Regions from separate parts of the Homo sapiens genome. Here region 2 is linked to region 1. The links are contacts of gene promoters, found by promoter capture Hi-C in blood cells and fetal thymus (Javierre and others, 2016). All regions are on one chromosome and are shown on one strand. The core of a region is centred on a gene start or on the middle of the fragment in contact, and the rest is flanking DNA. Distances in the headings are between cores, read along the strand shown. Region 1 holds the start of GPAT3 (glycerol-3-phosphate acyltransferase 3). Region 2 has its middle 13 kb from the start of NKX6-1.

What was found. Contacts are between HindIII fragments. The CHiCAGO score rates a contact against its expected background, and 5 or more counts as called.
Region 2: a fragment that was not itself captured here is called in contact with the fragment with the promoter of GPAT3 in region 1 in 1 of 17 cell types (M2 macrophages); the score reaches 6.0 in M2 macrophages.

The regions. Positions count from the first base shown.
Region 1 is chr4:83,533,812-83,540,418 of GRCh38, forward strand. GPAT3 (glycerol-3-phosphate acyltransferase 3) reads left to right here and starts at 2,297. Exons shown (of 12, transcript NM_032717.5): 1 at 2,297-2,952. The coding sequence starts at 2,812. The HindIII fragment of the contact is 15,854 bases long and covers 1-6,607 here.
Region 2 is chr4:84,509,364-84,516,019 of GRCh38, forward strand. No RefSeq gene overlaps it. Among named protein-coding and RNA genes, the nearest start is that of NKX6-1, 13 kb to the left of the region's middle. The HindIII fragment of the contact is 1,055 bases long and covers 2,371-3,425 here.

The DNA of each region.
Region 1 (6,607 bases), core at 1,047-3,546:
AGGCATCCCTAGGAAACAAATACAGTAAGTAAAGGGGGTCTTGACTTCAGGGACGGAGAAAGTAGGTTCCTACCTAGGTTTAAGTCTCAAGGAATGGAGGAGGGAGGAGAGGTGAGGAGAGTGAAAGAGAGACAAGGAGAGCGGCAAGTCGGGACCAACTTTCCCCGACTTGAGACAGGGTCAGGATCACCCTACATTTCTTCTCTTCCCTCACCCTCCTCCATCACTGCAAAGATGAGCCTTTGTTACCCTGGGGAGCCTGTGTTGGCTCTCCTGCCTTTTAGGCAAGAAAAAGATGAAGAGTTTTTGCCCTTGCACCAGGCTGCCTGCTGATCTCTGCATAGAGCTTTGTCATTTACCATGCAGTTTCATGCTCACAATCACTTTCAACCCTGAGAAGAACCCATCTTCCTGATGAGAAAGGTGAAGCACAGAAGCACTTGCTCAAACTTATATGTGTTCGTGCTGCTCTCAATCGAAGACTCCAAATTCCATTTTATTACCATTGCACCATACAGCTGTGGACGAATAATTCTTCCGTAACAGTTAAAACAAAACCAAACCAAAACCATTTTGTGGAGTTTGTTCATGAGCACCAAAAATCACTGGAGAGTGTGTGCACTCAGCACACGCAAAGTTGTGTGTATTATCTCCCTTGTGGGGTAAACTTTGGTACAAGGATTTAGCCTTCCTTAGTTATCTTGGTTTGAGGAAATAAAAGGAAAATAAGAGTTTTGCCTGAACATATGGTGTTAAATATGCCAATATAATATTTGAAGTTTTGCACTCAATATATATAGTGTTTGAAAGCAAGGACTTTGGGCAGCTTTCGGTAGTTGCGTTTTCCGTGTTTTTCTAAACTAGCCAACCTTACAGAGGTTTAATTTTGAGAAACCAAGCTCCTAACACTTCTTCATTCATAACCCTTTTTTTTTTTTTTTAGACTGAGTCTCACTCTGTCTCCCAGGCTGCAGTGCAGTGGCACGATCTCGGCTCACTGCAACCTCCTCCTCCCGGGTTCAAGTGATTCTCCTGCCTCAGCCTCCTGAGTAGCTGGGACTACAGGCGTGCGACACCACGCGGGGCTAATTTTTTTGTATTTTTAGTAGAGACGGGGGTTTCGCCATGTTGGCCAGGCTGGTGTTGAACTCCTAACCTCAGATGATCTGCCCGCCTCGCCTCCCAGAGTGCTGGGATTACAGGCGTGAGCCACCGCGCCCGGTCCATAACCTGGTTTTAATCATCAAGTTATAATTTTTTCCGTTCTTAGTGTGGGAGGGGGCTTGTGACAGCTACCTGGCAGTAAGTACTTAAGGCAGACATCTACATTCTTTACAGAGGGGCTTGTCACTTCGTTGGCTCCCCACTTCCTCCACACCCTGGGCAGGGACCATTTTCTCTGCAATATTTGCTATCAGCGCTGTTTCAATTCAGTTTGCTGGCCCTCTCAGTTTTTTTCCAGCTTGAAACAACACCTGAAAAGTACCTGTAAGAGATTTTGGTCGAATTCAGCGGCAATCTGGAAAATCCCTTCTCAAAATCCCTTCTGCTCATTCTTAAAAATAGTTCTGGTCTCTAAGAGAACAGCAATGTAGTAAATAACATACAGGGTTTTGCCCTTCGTTGCTCTGATAAGGGCTGGCGCGGTAGAAGCGCGGAGCCTGAACACCCAGGAGACACCTGTCAGCTTGGTGAATGAAGGCTTGCGCCGGCCTGGCATTTCTGCTACGCCTAAGCGCGGATAGTATTGGCTGAATGGTAGGGGAAGGTGTGGTTGGAATCTTCCCCCAGAAAGGGAGTGACAGATACTTAGCCGCAGGGTTTCTGTGCCAGGGAGATGGCGGCTCAGTGGGCTAGGCAACGCGTGGAGAGAGCTTCCTACTCTCGGGATAAGCAAGATTGAGCCCCACAGCTGTAGGCCATGTGGGGAAGGAGGTGTGGAAGCCAGAAGCGGCGTACACGGCTGCGTGGTGCGCTCTGCGTTTTCCTGTCCTTGGAAGCCCTTTCCAAGAGTTCGTTTTACACCCACACAAACAAGACCTCAAGCGTCCCAGATACGTCAGCAGTTCATTCTGCGGGTGAAGAAAATATTGACATTTTTCAGATGAAAACTCTCCTCCTGAAAGGACCTTTGCTGAGTGCTGGGGGAGGCGGGGCGCGGGGAAGAACGGAGACCGCCCAGGAGGCTGCGGCACTCCTGGGCTAAGTACTGCCAGGGAGCTCCCCCGTTGGGTGACGGAGGAGGTGGGGCGAGGGCAGCGCGCAGAAATAGGGCGCTGGGCGCCCGAGCGCAGCCAGCTTCCAGCACAGCCCGCGGCCCGGTGCCAGCTCCGCCGGCGACCGGTGTGCCAAAGTGCGGTGCTCCCGCAGGGAACCTGGCTCGGGGAGGGCCTCCGTGAGTCATCTGCTGAGTTGTCGCAATCGCCACCCAGAGGAAATCAGGCACCGGGCGGGGCGGGTTCCTGGCTGCGCTCGCGCGCTCTGCCCGCGCCGCGGTGTGCCTCCGCTTACCCGCAGCTCCGACCACTGGCTCGCGCTACCCAGGTCTCCGCACGCCGCGGTGGCTTCAGCCCAGACCTGGGCAGCCAGCGGAGAAAGAGTTAACTGGCAGGGGCGAGGAGGAGCCCAGGGAGGAAGGAAGGATATTGCCGTAATTCTGAAAGTTTTTTTCCTTCCTCTCTTCCCTTCGCAGAGGTGAGTGCCGGGCTCGGCGCTCTGCTCCTGGAGCTCCCGCGGGACTGCCTGGGGACAGGGACTGCTGTGGCGCTCGGCCCTCCACTGCGGACCTCTCCTGAGTGGGTGCGCCGAGTCATGGAGGGCGCAGAGCTGGCCGGGAAGATCCTTTCCACCTGGCTGACGCTGGTTCTCGGCTTCATCCTTTTACCTTCGGTCTTCGGAGTGTCTCTGGGCATCTCCGAGATCTACATGAAGATCCTAGTGAAAACTTTAGAGGTGAGTGCCGGGAGGGATGCAGCCAGCCCCACACCGCTGCGGGCTGAGAACCCGGGGGTCCAGTTCTCAAGGTCAGTGGTCGCGAGTCAGGGGTGTGTGTGCGCGCGTGTGCATGCGTGCGTGCATTTCTGTTCCTTGCCCGCAGCAGTGCGAAAGTCAGCATCTCGGCTTCTTTCGCGGAGCTGGAGGGATCTAGGCTGGAACCACTGGACCACTCTGTTGTTTCTCTGGTCGAAGGCGAAAAAATCATTCCACTCCCTGAGCATCGTTATTATTTTACTGATTAGAATAACAACAATGCGACCAACTTTTTGTATCAGAGGATTTGCTTATATCCATTATGCAGTGCAGTTTCCGCTTCACCCGCTTGTTTTTACAGCCCCAGGTTTCAGAGGTCCTTTTGTGTACTAAGGCATCCAGTTCAGAAAGGCATCATGTTCTTCTTTATGCCCAAGATAAGAGACCAATTGCTGGATGGCAGAAAGAAATCTTATTTTATTTTAGTGGAGTCATGGAAATTTTATCTAACCAACAGCACTTGAAATGCCATTGAAAAGGTATATATTCTTTGACCTCAGGTCTCCCTACCCTCCTGTTTCCAAATCCTGCAAAGAAAAATGTTAGATGGAAGTAGGCCTGGTAGAGAACAACTGCAGCTTACTCTTAGGGTTTTATTAAGTGTCAAAAGGCTGGGTAGGGTAGGGAGGGCAAGTGCCAACCCCCTTTTACAGAGAGGGAAACTGAGAGTCAGAGATCAGTGGTTTCTTTGAATTAAGTGTTAGAAGCAGGAGTCTTTTTTTAAAAAAAAATTTAATTATATGTATAATATGTGTGTGTGTGTGTGTGTGTGTGTGTGTGTGTGTATATTTAACATAAGAGACAGGGTCTTGCTATCTTGGCTAGGCTGGTCTTGAACTCCTGGCCTCAAGCAATCTTCCTGCCGTCACCTCCCAAAGTGCTGGGATTAAAGGTGTGAGCCCCACGCCTGGCCAGAAACAGGCATCTCAACTGAGAAGAGGCCCTGCAGCCTAGTGGTTAGGATTAGGGACCCTGGATACAGGTTTGCTTAGATTTGGTACCAAAATTGTAGCTCTGTTTCTCAAAATGTGACCTTAGGGAGGTCATCTACTCTTGTGCCTCATTTTCTGTATCTATAAAATAGGAGTAACAATAACTCCTATTTCCATAGGGTTGTTCAAATGAGTTAAAAGGTATCAAGCACCTTAGAAGGCTGCCTGCACCTACTGTATGAATGCTTGTTGCTATTAAAAGAATAATATGATTACTGAGATTCTGGCATTCCACAGTGCCTTCTAATAAGTTTGGTTCCCATTTTTGTGACCTGTTTTCTCTCTGCCCTTAGGACGTGGCTTTATCTGCTCTTCTTTCTCAGCTAATTGGGTGGCTCCCAGGTATACATCTCTAACCCACTGGACATTGTCTTGTACTTGCTAGCCTCCTGTATTGCCCTAGACTCTTGTTTGTGGCTATTTCTTTGCCTAGACTTTGAAGTTGTATGTGATTCTTCATCCTCAGTGCTCATGTTTTTAAAGTTCTACTGTTTCTACTTGGGAGCTATTTCTCAGTTTTGAACTCTTCTTATTGACTTTACATTCTGAGCTTGGTCACATTATGCTGTGAATTTCTTGACTGCTTCCTAATGTGAGATCTTCAGAATCCTCTCCCATAGCAGATGATCCTCTTCAGCTGGTGTTCCCTCTTTCTCTGAACTCTGAAATGATTGAACTGCTCTCTCATACAGCAATGTCTTTTGGAATTTATACCCTGTGTAAGAATGGTGTAAAGGTAAATCACACCCACTGGCTTCCAGGGGCTCACTTCTGTCTGTTTTTCTTTAGTAACTCAAGGTCAGCTAAGGACGGAGGCCAGCTAGTTGCTGTCAGCCTGGCAAATTATTATACCTGATAGGATGATCTCCAGTCCAGGATCTGACTTTCAGTTTGACAGGCCAGAGATTTTAATTTTTGTCCTTCTGGATAACTCCAGAGCTGAACTCCTTGTCAATCAAACTGACAAGAATGCCAGTTTTCTAATTCTGGTGGGAGAAACCAGATAACTTGGAAACCAGGTAGGTGACACATCAGGAACCCACCCTGTCTGCTGAGACTAAGTTATTAGGTCAAAGAGATGCTTGATATATGTGGAATTTGAATACAGATTCATTGTGTGAGCCAGCTCTGATTTGTTGGTTGCGGCTGCCTGGAACTCCTATGTTTGGGAGCATCTGAGCTCATCAGGAAAGAGAGCTGTGATCCCATAGTGATTTCTGCTTTAGGTGCAGGAGAACAGTAACCCAGGATCCTCTATCCTTCAACTAGAACAGTGTTAGATGTTTCAAAGACATTTCTGTTAGACTGGGGTTAATACGGTGGATTGCTTTTCTCAACTATAGGAATAATTCCTTAAGGGATTATGCTGATGTTTAGCATTAGAACATCTTCAGTGCTGGCCAAATACCCTGCCTTTCTGTAGATTGCATTCAAGGCCTAGCCCTTGTATCACTCCTTGGTAAATTCTTAATTGATTTAGTTGTATTTTTCTTTACATTTCATTCCCAAGAATATTCTTTGGGCTCTGATCATAATTGGATATTTCTCAAGTTTCTTTGCTTATAATTTATGTACCATTTAAAAAGATCATTTAGTTTTGTCTATTATATGTTTACTTTGACAAGTTTTACTGTCAATGGGTGACTTTCTCATGACAATAAACTCAAATTCTAGAAGTTGAAATGTGTGTAGGGTACCCTCTAAATTGCTGATTTTGGTAATTGTTACTTGTTAACTCACTGAACTTTATGCTCTTCTCTGACTCCTTCTTAACCCACTGGTTCAAGTAATTATCATTTATTGAGCACCTACTTCTATTTTCTTCTGCATTGCTGGGTATCTCTAGATGTATGCGTAAGTCACTGATATGGCAAGATACTTGAGGATAAGCCTTGAATACTTAGCTTGGAATAAGTTTAGTGATTCTCCAAGCCAGTGATTTTCAAGGGATATATGATAATTTGTTGGATACGTATGTTAATATTACAGCTTTATAGTCGAGAAAATTGTTTTAGGAATACAAATTATGAAGAGTAAAACTTGGCCAGGTGCGGTGGCTCACGCCTGTAATCCCAGCACTTTGGGAAGCCGAGGCAGGTGGATCACTTGAGATTAGGAATTTGAGACCGGCCTAGCCAACATGGTAAAACCCCATCTCTACTAAAAATACAAAAATTAGCCAAGCATGGTGGTGTGCACCTGTAATCCCAGCTGCTCAGGAGGCTGAGGCTGAGAATCACTTGAACCCGGGAGGCAGAGGCTACAGTGAGCCAAGATCACGCCACTGCGCTCTAGCCTGGGTGACAGAGCAAGACTCCATCTAAAAAAAAAAAAAAAAAAAAAAGAAATCAGACTTAAAGCCATTTCTTTTTGGTGAATTTTGGACAGCTACCTTTTTCCCTCCAAGAGGATTTGGAAATTAGGTGGAAAGAGAACTTGGTTGATAAGTATCTTTCAACTTTCCTTGGGGGGCAGAGAATGTGGGTTGTTAGAAGCCACTTTTGTACTTTAGGACCATTTCGCTGACAGAGCTGCCTCTTTTGTGATGCCTTGAGACAGATATGTTCTGAGATACCCCTGTAAGA
Region 2 (6,656 bases), core at 1,648-4,147, 980 kb after region 1:
ATAAGGAAACCACTGAGGAAGCCCCGCAGACTCTGAAGAAGGGCACAGATGAAAATAGTGGCAACCAGCTGCTGTGGGTGGACTTCCAGAGGACTTGTTTTCTTGGAAGTTGCTACCTGAGAGCTGCACACTGTTTCTGTACTTGGAGTAGTGCAGAATGAGTGTAATCACCGCTCATTCAGGCACTCAATTTTAATTTCACATCGTTTACATTATGTTGATTGATTACAGCCAAGTCATTCACACAGCATTCATCTGCTCAGCTTTCTAAGGCCCATAACAAGGGGTGGCTCATTCCCTAAGAACTCTCCACAGAATTCCTTCAGAATTATTTATTATTTTAAAAAATTATATTAAAGTCACCAGGTTTTAGAGACCTGCTAAAAGGATGGCAATGTGGTCTATCTGCAATCTGAGTTATTAAGAGATATATGAGCAAATATAAAAGTGTTTAAAATATCTGGAGAAAAAAATCAAAATATGTTCCCACATATTGGATGCAAATCAAGTCCAGAAACAGAAACAATGAGTGACACTAGATTTTTAAAAATAACTTGTATCTCTAAAATTTCTGGACTATAGTGAGTAGAAAGAGTGCCATATTAGGAGTTAGAAAGCCTAGATTCTAGCACTCATAGTCTGATTTTCCTCATCCTTATATAGATGAAAATATATGTCTACATAAAAACTTTTACGTTAATGTTGATAGCAGCGTTATTTATAATAGCAAAAATTAGAAGCGATACAAAGGCTCATCAGCTGATGAATAAATAAAATGTGGTCTATCCACACAATGGAATATTGTTCATCAATAGAAAGGAATAATTACTCATCCATGCTACAACATGCATGAACCTTGAAAACAATACTCTAAGTGAGGAAGCCAGTCACAAAAATCTGTATATTATTTCATTTATGTGAAATGTCCAAAATAAGTAAATTCATAGAGATAGAACATAGATTAGTGGTTGCTTGGGAATGGGACAGGGCCAGAGTGGTGTGGGAGCAGAAATGGGGAGTAACTGCTAATGAGAATGGGGATTCTTTGGGGGATATTGAAATGTTCTAAAATCAGATTGTGGTGATGGTTGCACAACTCTGAATATGCTAAAAAACCCTGAACTGAGTACTTTGAATGGGAGAATTTTATGGCATATGAAATATAGCTCAATAAAACTATTTTTAAAAACTAGGGATTGTGAAAAATACCAAGAATATGAGTGTAAGCACCCCATAAAGTGTGCAATGTTCTATATGGTAGGAGTCACTATTGTCTTCACCTAAGGAAACTTGCTGGGAGAGGAAGTGGCAAATTGCCGGTAACTAAGGGAATAGACCCCAAAGGAGAAGGACATGGGAATGACTGCTCTATAAAAGTAAGAATGAATTAAAACATCATAATAAGGCAATGTGAAAAAATGACAGCACTTTAATTATTTTTCCTTCCAGGTTTACCTTGTGTGTCATACTCTAAACAAGATGTAATTGGCTTGTAGAAAATAACAAATACGCATTTTAGATACTTTTTTTGTTTCAGAGTCACAAAGTCCATAAATCATTCCTCAACTGTCCTAAAGACAAAAGATACGCAGAGGATTCAAGTCAAGAAATGTTGATGTCCTACTGGGTGTTAATTCTACCTCTTAATCAAGATCTGATTATCAAAAAGGACAACAGAACATTAAAATGCTATAAAGATTTGAAATGTTTCAGTCTTCTCCAGAATTCACACTGTAAATGTCCTCATTATGACATTCACCAGAGCAACAAATTTGAGATGTTGCTGCAAAAATTCTGTAGAGCAGAATCTTTGCAAATTATGATGAATAATCCAAGTCCATATACTTGCTCTATAAAGCTCTGTAATATCAAGGTACTCCAACTCTGCTTCTGCTTCCTCAAAAACATACTATTTTAAAGAACAGTAAAAGGTAATTAAAAATAGTTTATAGGTTAATCATACTTGGTCTTATATTTGTCTAATGCAGACACTGGTGTGCTGGTGTTATAGCTGTTAGACATTATCATGAGCCAAAAAAATGAATCAGATATTTAATGGAAATTTTCTTATAAAATTACAAAAATGCAAGCCAATAATACTAAACTATAATAAAATTCTGAGCAGTGATACTACGGTGTTTTTTTTTCCCTGAAGGAGTAGGTATTCTATAAAAGAATGCTTAAATACTATGGTCATTCTGTTATAAATAAATATATTTCATAGACTGTTCTACATAGCTGATAGATGAATTTGCTCTGTTTCATCATTTCTGTACATTAACGGCATGGAGCAAGAAGCGAAACTCTAGTTATCACTAACCAGTTCTGTCTATATCAAAATTTAAAATTCCTTACAGCAGAAAAGTCAGAAGCTTAAAAGCCTAAATAGTTAACAGCAGTAGTTTCCGTTCTACGTAGCACTATGGTGCTTTACAGATTATTTCTCTTTAAAAGTAAGGCTTTGTCTTTGGTTAAAATGGAAAGTCCCTGGAAAGGCTGAGTAATATGCCTTATCAATTATGTGAGTCAAGGTGTAATGAGTTTAGCAGCTCCTTACCTGAGAGCAGGCTTCAATGATGCTAGCAGGGTACTGGAGTGCCCTATGACTACACTGAACTTCTTAGGGCCGAGAGAAAGGACCATGGTGGAGCAAGGGGGTCTTCACAAAAGGTTGAGTAAGAGTAACCAAGTTGCTTTGATAAGATTTACCTCAGATTAATAAAAGGGAGAACAGAATCACAGAGCCTTCAGAGGCTACTTCAGCTCAGGGAGTTAGCAGGTATATATAAGGAACTAGAAATAGAAAACCTTTGTTTCTATTTGTTTCCCAAAGTTACTAACATAAGCATGCTCATTTTTTGTTTTCCCTCAAAGCCTAGTAGTTCTATACCCTTATATTTAGGAACAGCAAAAAGGGGTGATACCTGCGAGACTTCCTACCACTTGAGCCGGTCTTGGGGAGAGCTTATCTCCAAGCAGAGCCTATCACCTGGCATGTGTGTCCGTGTGTCTGTGTGTCTGTATCTCTCTGTGTCTGTGTGTACTGAAGGAAGCAGGAACACAGTACAGGGAAGCTACTTGGCCTGGAGCTTCCACACACAAAGGGCCTCAAATTTACACTTTGGAAGTTGTCTCCAAGAAAGAATATGCACATAATCACATATAATCACATACGCTGACCAGTGGAAAGAAAAAGACAATCACCATTTGATTTTAATCCCATGTCCCACGATCCAACCACATAGCCTGTGTAAGATCTACATTAATATTTTTAATAAATCCTTTAATTATCCCATGAATAATAACAATGCATATGTTAAAAGTGCTAAATTGCTAAATAATTCTTATAATCTTATTCTGAAATTCATTTATCCATTAATATACCAGGAGCTTTCAAAAAATGGAAGTAGCTTATGTCCATCCCAAGCTTTGAGAGGCTCTGATACTGAGAAATTGGATGGATAATGGCCACTGCTAAGAAGAGAGGAAAATAAACTTAACTCCTTTGGGCCTGCAGTTATGGAAAAAGGGGAACAAAGAACTGCCCTGGTATGAGAAGGGACCTGGGAATCTTCAGTAGAAAGCTCCTTATGAGGTTCACTGGCATTATTGTTTAGCCACTACATCACAAATCTACTTCTGTTTAATTATTCTAATATTTTTAATGCAACTTTTTTTATTTGCTATGTCCACATAATCCAGAACATCAATATAGACTATAGTCTTGATCTCAAATCAGCTAGGCACTGAGAGTTATAACAAAAACTATTAGGTCCCTTCTTGAAGGAGCCTACCGATAGCTTGATCATTACAGGTAAGAAGATAACTAGCAATACAAGGCAATGATTAACTCATAAGCACCGTGCTGGTGGCCTAGTCAACAAGAACTATGGATGGGAGTTCATTCAGAAGAAAACTTCTGATCAGAGAGAAAGCTGCGGGTGAGACAGAATTTCATCTAAGTTGGGCCTCTTCACTTTTGACTGTGCGTGTGTGTTTTCCTCTAGACCGGATATTCTTGTGCATTTTTGTAGAAAGCCAAAAGGAAGAAAATGAAGACAAAAACGGTGAAGATGCTGGAGAAAGACAGGATGATTGAATATCCAGGAGGGTGAGAATAGGTGGCAAGGTAAGCCTTTCCTTGGAGTTGAAGGAATGGAGGCAAGGTATAGAGAAAAACAGATGTTTAGGGTAGGAGAACAGAGGGGCTGAGGCAATTCATCAGGTAAATGGGAAACATGCATTCAATGGAAAGATTCAGGAAAGAGTTTGTAACATGAAAAGGGAGAAAAATTCAAGAAATTGTTAAGATAAATATGTGAATAGATTAAGAAGAGGTGAATAAAAGAGGTACTTAGCAGCAGTGCGGAGCTACCCAATTGCCTGTAAAAACTTTCACAGGATTGAATGGCTGTAACTCCAGCAGTGTCCCTGGCATCACTTTTCCTGAGCTGGAACCTGGAGTCTCGTTTGATTCATGGATGGTGAATAATGTGGCCAATGCTGTGAAAGCAAAGAGGTTGATCTTTGAATTCTTTTTCTTATTGGCCTGCTACCTGGTTCCTATCCTTTTAGGGTGGAGACAGGGGCTTGCTAAAGAAAGACTCTCTACATCAGCCTCCCCTTATCTCAGGCTTTGCAGAAGATGTGTTGATGTTAGTCTGCCCTTGCGGTAGATATTTTTTAAGTGGCTTATGGCTATAACCATCTCTTCCACCAGTTAAAATACAGTTTCTATTTTTACTTTTATTATGTCCATACAGATTACAAAGTAAAGCTGTTTCCTAAATTCAGAATTGGTGACAAAGGAGTTATATTTAAACCTATCACTCAGCAAAAACACCTATTGGTTTTACCTAAAGAGCTTAGTAGTATAATAATGACTTAGGGGCCGGGCAAAGTGGCTCACACCTGTAATCCCAGCACTTTGGGAGTCCAAGGCGAGTGGATCACCTGAGGTCATGAGTTCGAGACCAGCCTGGCTAACATGGTGAAACCCTGTTTCTACTAAAAATACAAAAAATTAACCAGGCTTGGTGGCACGTGCCTGTGATCCCAGCTACTTTGGAAGGCTGAGGCAGGAGAATCGCTTGAACCCAGAAGGCAGAGGTTGCAGTGAGCCAAGATCACACCATTGCACTCCAGCCTGGGCAACAAGAGCAAAACTCAGTCTCAAAAAAAAATATATATAGTGACTTAGGATTGAGATTCCTAATATCCTTTCATGTGCAAACTCTGATTCTTAACTAAGATTCAATTAACAGGAAAGAAGATGTAACATAAAATTAAAACTCTATAATGGACTTGCATTGCTTTAATCTCCATACTTAATTGACACTAAATAGTTTACTTGCAGAAGAGAGATTCTGAGTACTATGTTTACACAGTACACTGATTATGATGCATAGAATTTTTTTGTAATAAAAAGGAACAGATTAATCCATTCTGTGTGACCGTAGCAGCCTACTGTGAACCACCCATTTATATCACTTTGTCGTGACCTTTGCTTCAGAAGCCTGACTGGCAAAGTAGTGCAATGGGTGCCCCTTTCTATAGTTAAGAAAAACTGCCAGTTACATACAAAGATATATTTTCCTGTCAGTTGATTCAAATGCAAAAAAAATACAGTCACCCAGATGACTACAGATGCCAAGTCACAAATTTGATTAAATTCTGAATGAAGCGAAGCATCATTCAGGCATAAACAATGCACAGCCAAGACCAGTCCTACCTCCTCTGTCAATAAGTATCGAACTCTCACTGGAAATTTTACCTGGAGCACTTACTAGACTCGCCAAGCAGAGGGTGATGTGATTTATATTTTTAGCCCTGACTAATGCCACAATTACTTGAAATATAGTATGCTTCCACACAGCTATATTTTTCTAACTAGTATTTTCCTTTAACAAAGATAAGATATAGTTCATATCATGTTACTCACTTTAATGTCATAAAGTTAGGCTTAGAATAAATTAGTTCTACAAATGGAATTTTAAGTAAGAGTAAAAGCATTGTAGGAAAAAAGAAGCACAGCAAGGTTCCTGAACCCATGGAACAAAATTTAATAAAGGCTAGTGTACATAACAGCAGGCAGGACAAACATAATAGCATGGATCAGGGAGGCCCAGACACAGCCAAAATGGACCGGCAGACATGAACCACCAAGAGAACCTGGGGCCTGCCTTGCAGCCACAGAGCTGAGGGATCTTGAGCAGAAGGAACAAGGTGGAGTCACCCAGATGCATCTTCCCCATGTATAAGTGGGAGGGAAAACCACTTTAAATCTTCCTTTGAACTTTTGCTTTATCCCAACTCCACATTCTCAGCTTTAGGAATTTTAATGATGACATTTCACATTGCAACCGAGCATACACACACACATATGTATAGAGCTGGTATATTCTAGTGTTTTCTATTCTGTTATATCCTATTTCATCCTTTTAAAATTCTGGTTAAGTCACATGCTATGTGTTAAATTGTGTCCCCACCCAAATCTTACAGGTTGAAGTCCTAACACCCTATACATTAGAAGGCAGCTTTATTTGGTGATTGTCTTTTTTCAGAAGTAATCAAGTTAAAATGAGGTCATTAGGGTGAGCCCTAATCCAGTATGACTGGTATCCTTATAAATAGGTGAAACTTGAACACAGTGGTGT